2 separate regions of the Homo sapiens genome follow, and region 2 is linked to region 1. Evidence: promoter capture Hi-C in human tissues and cell types (Jung and others, 2019). All regions are on one chromosome and are shown on one strand. The core of a region is centred on a gene start or on the middle of the fragment in contact, and the rest is flanking DNA. Distances in the headings are between cores, read along the strand shown. Region 1 holds the start of SPATA32 (spermatogenesis associated 32). Region 2 overlaps LINC02210-CRHR1 (LINC02210-CRHR1 readthrough).

Region 1 (3,875 bases), core at 158-2,657:
CACATGCATGTGACTCCTCAAACCTCTTCCAGATTTCTCTAAGAATAGCACCCCCTTCCCCATTGCCCCAGCTTAGCCTCTTCTCCCAGGGGAGCTACTCAGGACTCACGTAGCATTAAATCAGCTGTGAATCGTCAGGGGGTGTCTGCTAGCCTCAACCTCCTGGGGCAGGGGACGCCGAGACTCCGTGGGAGAAGCTCATTCCCACATCTTGCCAAGACAGCCTTTGTCCAGCTGTCCACATTGAGTCAGACTGCTCCCGGGGAGAGAGCCCCGGCCCCCAGCACATAAAGAACTGCAGCCTTGGTACTGCAGAGTCTGGGTTGTAGAGAACTCTTTGTAAGCAATAAAGTTTGGGGTGATGACAAATGTTTCCAGGCCATCGGTGTCCTCTCTCTTGCCTGCCGGCCTGCTGAACCTCACGACCCTAACAGCTGCCTCTCTTTGCCTTCTTGCTGAGATCTTTTCAAGTCCCCCTTGTTTTGGACAAGGACTGTTTCAGCCCTTGAGTGGGGCTGCTTTCCCACCACTCCTCCCAGTGGCTGCTTCTAGTCCCAACGCTGGGCTAGTCATTCAGACCAGTTAGGCAAGATACCTTGCCCGGTGGCATCAGGGAAGTCCCTCGCCAAAATATGCCAGGCTGAGGGGTGGAGGAGGAGGACAACAAAGCCTGCATGCTTTGTGCCACTGCCCAAGTTAGGCAGCCCCCTACCACCAGAAGGGAAATAGGGATGGGTTCTGGGCCCTGACCATCCAGGGATGCCGGATGCACACCACAGGCCCTCCACCCTCCCCTCCTGTCCTTGAGGCCTGGACTCTTAACCCTTTCCGCTGCCTCCTGAGCCCTGCATGGGGCCAGGGATGCCTTTGTGGGCTGAGTTCCTTGGTCATGGAGCTGGGGCACACGGGGTGCTGAGTTCCTTGGTCATGGAGCTGGGGCACACGGGGTGCTGAGTTCCTTGGTCATGGAGCTGGGGCACACGGGGTGCCTTATCGAATCTGGCTCCACACTCCCTGTGTGCACAAGTGTGTGTGCGCGCGGCTTGGGTTGGTTTAGCCGGTTCTTGGAAGGGCCCTGGGACCACGAAAAGGGCGGCAGCCCTGAGCCGCTGGCGTGCAGAGCGGGTGCAAGTCCTGTCCAGCACAGCCAGGCTTACCTGCCGCCTGCCTCTCGCTCTAGGCCCGCTGCGGAAGCGCGAGCCCCACCCCCGAGGTCTTCGGAGAGGAAGGAGTTCTGGCTTCGGGCCCGCAGCCTTCGGAGGACGCCTCACTCGGGCCGTCCCCCGTCCGCCCGCCCGAAACCTAAATGCGGCTCCCTGCCTGTGGGGTCGCGGCGGGGACGTCACAGAGGCGGCGACATCACAGGCACCGGCGCCTCTAATATTTCCAGCGCCCACCAGTCCCTCAGCCAAAGAGCACACTGGAGGCGGAGAGGCAGCATCCACCAGCCCGCTCCCCGCCTCCAGGACAGAGCCTCGGTCTGCATGGGGGTGACAGGTGGGAGCGGCCGAGCGCCCGGGGGCGAGGGTTGGGGCAGGCGGGGAAAGCGAAAGTGAGAGGGGGAGGGGCGCGAAGGGGGCGGTCAGGAATCCGCCCAGGGCCCGTTCCCCTGCTCCCAAACCCCCGGCACCTGAAAGGCAGGTCGACCCGCCGCCAAAGCCCACCCGGTGCCCCTGACTACGGCTCCCAGCCTCAGCCCCTGCGCGGTGCACACCCATGTGCTCTCACGGACACGCATGCGCGCCTTGGAGTAGGGACTGCAGAGTCAGTGGTTCTTGAAGGGGTTCTGAGACCACAGAAGGAGCAATGGCCTTGTGCACAGGAAACGACTCATGAATTATCCTGAACTGCAGATCCAAAAAATCACATCCAGTTGTCCCTCCTTGATGCTTGAGGCTTTGCAGGGAGGAGCGGCAGTCTTCAGCACATTTTTACGGAGCGCTTCGTTGATGCCTTGTACTCTTCTCTGAACCAATGAGCAAAGATGTTTGCCCCCAGTGCCCTGTGTCTCCCCTTCCCATAGGGGCGTCAGATCCCCCACTGAAATGGTGGCTTTCTTTTGGGGATCCTCTCTCCCAGAAGGGCATGGGCCAGCATTAAAAACGGTCAAAAATTAGGTGGGCATGATGGCTCAACGCCTGCAATCCCAACACTTCGGGAGGCAGAGGTGGGAGGATCACATGAGGCCAGGAGTTCAAGATCAGCCTAGGCAACATAGCGAGACTTTGTCCTCTACAGGAAATGTTTAAAATTAGACAGGTGTGGCGGCATGAGCCTGTAGTCCCAGCTACTTGGGAGGCTGAGCTGGGAGGCTCACTGGAGCCCAGGAGTTGCAGTGAGCTATGATGCTGCCACTCCAGCCTGGGCCACAGAGCAAGACCCTGTCAAAAAAAAAAAAAAAAAAACCAGAGGTCGGGTGCAGTGGCTCACGCCTGTAAGGTAAAACGTAGATTAGACAGCCAGGTCTGTCATGGAGAGGATTACACTGATTATTTGAATTGGGCTTTCAGGCATGAGTAGGACTTTGCCAGAAGAAGGCTTTCCAGGTATAAGAAATAGCATTTGCAAAGGCACTGGGTGCAGAAAGGCCTGCGGTACTCTGGGGGTAGCTTCGGCTTAGGGTGAGGGACAGGAAGCTGGATGCCAAGAGATGAAAAATGAAGGTAGAGATCAGACCAAGAGGCCACATGGAGTCTGGGGGTAACCGGAGACAAGTGAGATGTAGCAGGCTCACTCTGAGGTCATTGAAAATCCAGGTTGGAGGGGGACATAGTTGCAGTGGTCCCACTGGAAGACTAAAGAGATTTAAGACAGTGCAGTGAGTAGCATCCCAGAGTTTGGAGCCAGCCAGACCTGCCTTTGGGTCGTGTGCTGCTCTTAATAGCTGCATGACCTCATACACGTTTCCTCATCTGTGAGAGGAGAGCCGTGGCCAACTGGGCATAGGGTAGGTATGAAGACTGAATGTGCAAAGCACTCAGCACCAAGTGCCAAAGGGTAGGAAGTCATGGGTGTGTGCTGGCTCTGGTACTGGGAGATGAGGACAGCATCAGGGGTAGGAGGGCAGTAGCTGCGGAGGGAGGAGGAGTCACAAATGACCCAGGTTTCTCATTTGGGTGAAAGGATGAAGGATGAATAGGGCGAGGAGAGTGGGGTATGGAGAGATGACAGACTAGAAAGGGAGACAGGGGTCAGACAGGCAGAACCGTGGCAGCCACACTTAAGAGTCTGGACATACAAGATATGAATTTGAGGTAAGAAATTAGGCCAGGCATGGTGGCTCACGCCTGTAATCCCAACACTCTGGGAGGCCAAGATGGGAAGATCGCTTGAGCTCAGGAGTTTGAGACCAGCCTGGGCAACATACTGAGACCTCATCTCCTTTTTTTTTTTTTTTTGAGACAGAGTCTTGCTCTGTCACCCAGGCTGGAGTGCAATGGCACCATCTCGGCTCACTGCAACGTCTGCCTCCCGGGCCGAAGCCATCCTCCCTATCAAAACCTAACAAAGACATTACAAGAAAAGAAAATTATACACCGATATCCCTCATGAATATGCATGTGAAAATTCTGAAAAAAAGCCAATCAGATTCAACAACATAGAAAAAGGGTAATATATCACAACCAAATGAGGTTTATCCCAGTAACGCAAGGCTGATTTAACATTTTAAAAAATAAATTTATAGCTGGGCATGGTAGCTCACACCTATAATCTAGCACTTTGGGAGGCCACGGCAGGTGGATAGCTTGAGCCCAGGAGTTCAAGACCAGCCTGGGCAATATAACAAGACCCATCTCTACAAAAAATACAAAAATTAGCTGGGGGTGGTGGTGAACACGTGTAGTCCCAGCTACTCCAGAGGTGAGGTGGAAGGA
Region 2 (3,986 bases), core at 468-2,967, 470 kb before region 1:
TCTATGACCAAAACACCCATTAGGCCCCACCTCCAACATTGAGAATTAAATTTCAACATGAGATTTAGATGAGACAAACATCCAAACCATAGGAATAGCAATTTTGGAAAAAAAAAAGAATAAATTGGGAGGAATCAGTCCATCTCATATCAAGCTACAGTAATCACTGTATAGCTACAGTAAGACTGAATGTTATTGGCATACAAGATACAAGATAACTTACAAGACTGTATGTTATTGGCAGAGAGATATACATCAATGGAACAGAATGGAGAAACCAGAAATAGACCCACACAAATATGCCCAACTAATTTTTGACAAACGTACAAAACTAATTCAATGGAGGAAAATAGCCTTTTCAACAAATGGTGCTAAAAAAAAAAAAAGCCTCTAAGTCTTACGTACGCCTTATACTAAAATTAACTCAAAATGGATCATTAACTTAAATGTAGAACATAAAACTATAAAACTTCTGAAAAAACAGGAGGAAGTCTTCAGGATGTAGGTCTATGCAAAGAGTTCTTAGGTTCAACACCCAAAGCATCACCCATAAAAGGAAAAATTAATAAATTGGACTTCATCACAAAAGCTTCTGTTTTGTGAAAGGCCCATTAAAAAGCATTAAAAAGATGAAAAAAAGCTACATACTGGGAAAAATATTTGCAAACCATATATCCAACAAAGAACTAGTATGTAGAATATATAAAGAACACTCAAAACTCAGCAGTCAGAAAACGAACAATCCAATTAGAAAATAGGTAAGAGACATAAAGACATATTTCACCAAAGAAGACATCATATGGCAAATAGCACATAAAAAGATGCTCATTGTTCATCATTAAGGGAATGCAAGTTACAATCACAATGAGAATCACTATGTACCTATCAGGATGGCTAACATAAAACAGTAATAATACTAAATGCTGACAAGGATTCAGAGAAACTGAGTCACTCATACATTGCTGGTGGGAATGTAAAATGGTACAGGCACCGTGGAAAACAGTTTGGCAGTTTCTTTCAAAAACTAAACATACAACTACTGTACAACCCAGCAATTGTACTTCTGGGCATTTATCCCAGAGAAATGAAGACTTGTATATAAATGTTTATAGATGCTTTATTTATTTGTATTAGCCCCAGACTGAAAATGATCCACTTGTCCTTCAACACAGAAATGATTAAATAAACTGGGGTATATCCTACCATGATCTAATACTCAGTGACACTGTTAGGCTTTGTGTCCCCATCCAAATTTCATCTTAAATTGTAATCCCGAGGTATTGAGGAAGAGAACTGGTAGGAGGTGATTGGATCACAGGGACAGTTTCCCCTATGCTTCTCTCATGATAGTGAGTTCTCACGAGATCTAATGGTTTTATAAGACAGTTTTCCCTGCACTTGCTCACTGTCTCTCACCTGCTGCCGTGTAATATGTGCCTGCTCCCCCTTCTGCCAAGATTGTAAGTTTCCTGAGGCCTCCCCAGCCATGTGGAACTGTGAGTCAATTAAACCTCATTTGTTTATAAATTACCCAGTCTCGGGTAGTAGCTTTATAGCAGTGTGAGAATGGATTAATACAGTCAGAAAGAACTACTGATACACAAAACAACCTGGATGAATCTCCAGAGAATTATGCTGAGTGAGAAAAGCCAATCCCCCAAAGTTACATATGATTCCATTTATATAACATTCTGGAAATGACAACATTATGGAAATGGATAACAGATCAGTGGTTGCCATCAGTTAAGGAGAAGATAGGGATGGGAGGGAAGTAGATATGGCTATAAAAGGGCAACATGAAGATCCTCATGGTGATAGAAACGTTCTGTATCCTGACTGTGTTAACATCAATATCTTGGTTGTAATATTATAGTTTTGCAAGTTGCTATCATGGGAAACTGAGTAGAGGATTCCCCAATTACCTCAAAATTTAAAATTTTAGGTAAGAAAATTTAAACTTTGAAGACAGAAAAAAGATAAAACGCTGCTGCTTCTCCAAGATAAAATAAGAATGGCCATGGCTTCCCGACAATCACCTGGACTTACCTGAAACAGACTCATTGAATCAGGAGAATTGGCTTCCAGGTTCTACAGCCTCTCTTCCTCCCTCCAACACGAGTAAGCCCTCTGTAGTCTCTCCTCCTTTCCCCCACCAAAATGTAAAAAAGCTGATAAAGCACTAATACTAATCATAAATAATTGTTCAGACAGTGAGTGCATACTCACAAAGGGATGTGCATTTTAATGGGAACAAGTCATAGTAAGCTAAAAAATGAACCACCAATAGTGAAATTGCTGATACAGCAGGCAGAGGTAGGAAGACATTTAAGATGGCTGGAAAAGGAAGAACTTCCTTGAACTCTGAAAATCCATCAGGCCTGCAGGCTGGGTTGATTCATCAGGCCAGCTGTGCCCAATAGGTAGAGTGGAGAGATTTAAACACCAGGGTAGGGGACAGGAAATGGCAGAATGAAGATATCAGTAGTGTAGTGCTCCAGGATTGGATGGGAATGATTAGAAAGAAAGAGAATTGAGATTTGAAAGGTAAAAGATATTTATTCATTTGCCTAGGACGTTTCACCACTTTAAAAATTAATTAAATTTGTTAGAGATGACATCTCACTATGTTGCTGTATTAGTCTGTTTTCATACTGCTATAAAGAACTGCCCAAGACTGGGTAATTTATAAAGGAAAGAGGTTTAATTGACTCACGGTTCTGCACAGCTGGGGAAGCCTTGGCAAACTTACAATCATGGTGGAAGGTGAAGGAGAAGCAAGGCACCTTCTTCACAAGGCAGCAGGAAGGAGAAGTGCCAAGCGAAGTGGGAAGAGGCCCTTATAAAACCATCAGATCTTGTGAGAGCTCACTCACTATCACGAGAACAGCATGGGGGAATTGCCCCCATGATTCAATTATCTCCACCTGGTCTCTCCCTCGACATGTGGGGATTATGGAGATTATAATTCAAGATGAGATTTGGGTGGGGACACAAAGCCTAACCATATCAGTTGCCCGGGCCAGTCATGAACTTTCACCACTGTTTTCTGCAAAGCACTGTGCATTCCCATTCTAGTTAGGCGATCTAAATGTAAAGTGGCCATTTTGGAACAATTATTGGCCTGGGTGTGATCACCTGATCCAGCCCTGACCAATCATAGTACCTTTCTACCTCTGAGTTTCAATAATTGGTTGAGAAGGTGATGGGTAATTCAAGCCTAGCCAATTGGAGTCTTCTCCTATTGGTTGGTTGGTTGGTTGTAACTGGAATTGGAGTTTTGTCTACTGTGATGAAACTGAGAGTATTAGGCCTTGGACCAGCAGCACGGGAGAAGCTATCTAACTAAGCAGGGAGCTGACACCTAGAGAACCAGGCAGTAGGAGGGATGCCTGGTGGCCCCAGAGTCCCTGGTTTAAGTCATTCCTGAGGCTGGCTGCATTCTTGTCCAGCCAGTGGTTTGGATACTGGAGTCAATAAGTAATCCCCATACTCCCCTTTCCCAGAAGCCCGAGCAAAGCTGGCTCTGTACGCAGGATGAGGGGAGGCTTGTGTGTGTGTGTGCGCTGTGGGTTCCTGATCAGAAAGTTCTACCCCATCTGATGAGCCCTGGCAAAAAAGTCATCAGAGATGGTACTGAGGCTCTGAAAGCCTACGTGCTGGGGAGGAAGATCCCAAGGAAGCAATAAGGTAGGAACCATCTTTTCACTTATGGAGCACCTGAGCTGCACTGGATAGCACACTCCAGTGTAAATGTTATTAGTCCATTTTTCAGAGGAGAAAACTGAGGCTCACACAAGTAAAGTCAGTTGTTCGAGGTAACATGGTAATAAGAGGCAGGCTTGGTATGGGACCCAGTCATTTCTTACTTCCAAGCTAGTTTCTTTCTAGTTGGCCACCCTATTCTCCAGGAGCCTCCCATTCTCTTAGCAAGGCACAGCTGCTTATTTAAAGATTACCCAAAGCTTTTGACCAGCTCAGACATCTCA

The links. The method cuts DNA at HindIII sites, captures the fragments that hold promoters and counts their contacts. A contact is called where the count stands out against the background at its distance.
Region 2: a contact is called between a fragment that was not itself captured here and the fragment with the promoter of SPATA32 in region 1, in 1 of the 25 tissues and cell types used here (dorsolateral prefrontal cortex).

The regions. Positions count from the first base shown.
Region 1 is chr17:45,259,626-45,263,500 of GRCh38, reverse strand. SPATA32 (spermatogenesis associated 32) reads left to right here and starts at 1,407. Exons shown (of 5, transcript NM_152343.3): 1 at 1,407-1,497. The coding sequence starts at 1,485. MAP3K14 (mitogen-activated protein kinase kinase kinase 14) reads left to right here. Exons shown (of 16, transcript NM_003954.5): 16 at 1-382. The region is part of intron 2 of MAP3K14-AS1 (MAP3K14 antisense RNA 1); the gene reads right to left. RefSeq lists enhancers at 366-969, 1,404-1,493, 970-1,575 and silencers at 1,524-1,573, 1,644-1,763. The HindIII fragment of the contact is 11,872 bases long and covers 1-3,875 here.
Region 2 is chr17:45,733,985-45,737,970 of GRCh38, reverse strand. All of the region lies in intron 3 of LINC02210-CRHR1 (LINC02210-CRHR1 readthrough), which reads right to left. It overlaps LOC107985028 (a long non-coding RNA gene), which reads left to right and starts at 3,292. Exons shown (of 2, transcript XR_001752915.2): 1 at 3,292-3,687. The HindIII fragment of the contact is 5,736 bases long and covers 1-3,986 here.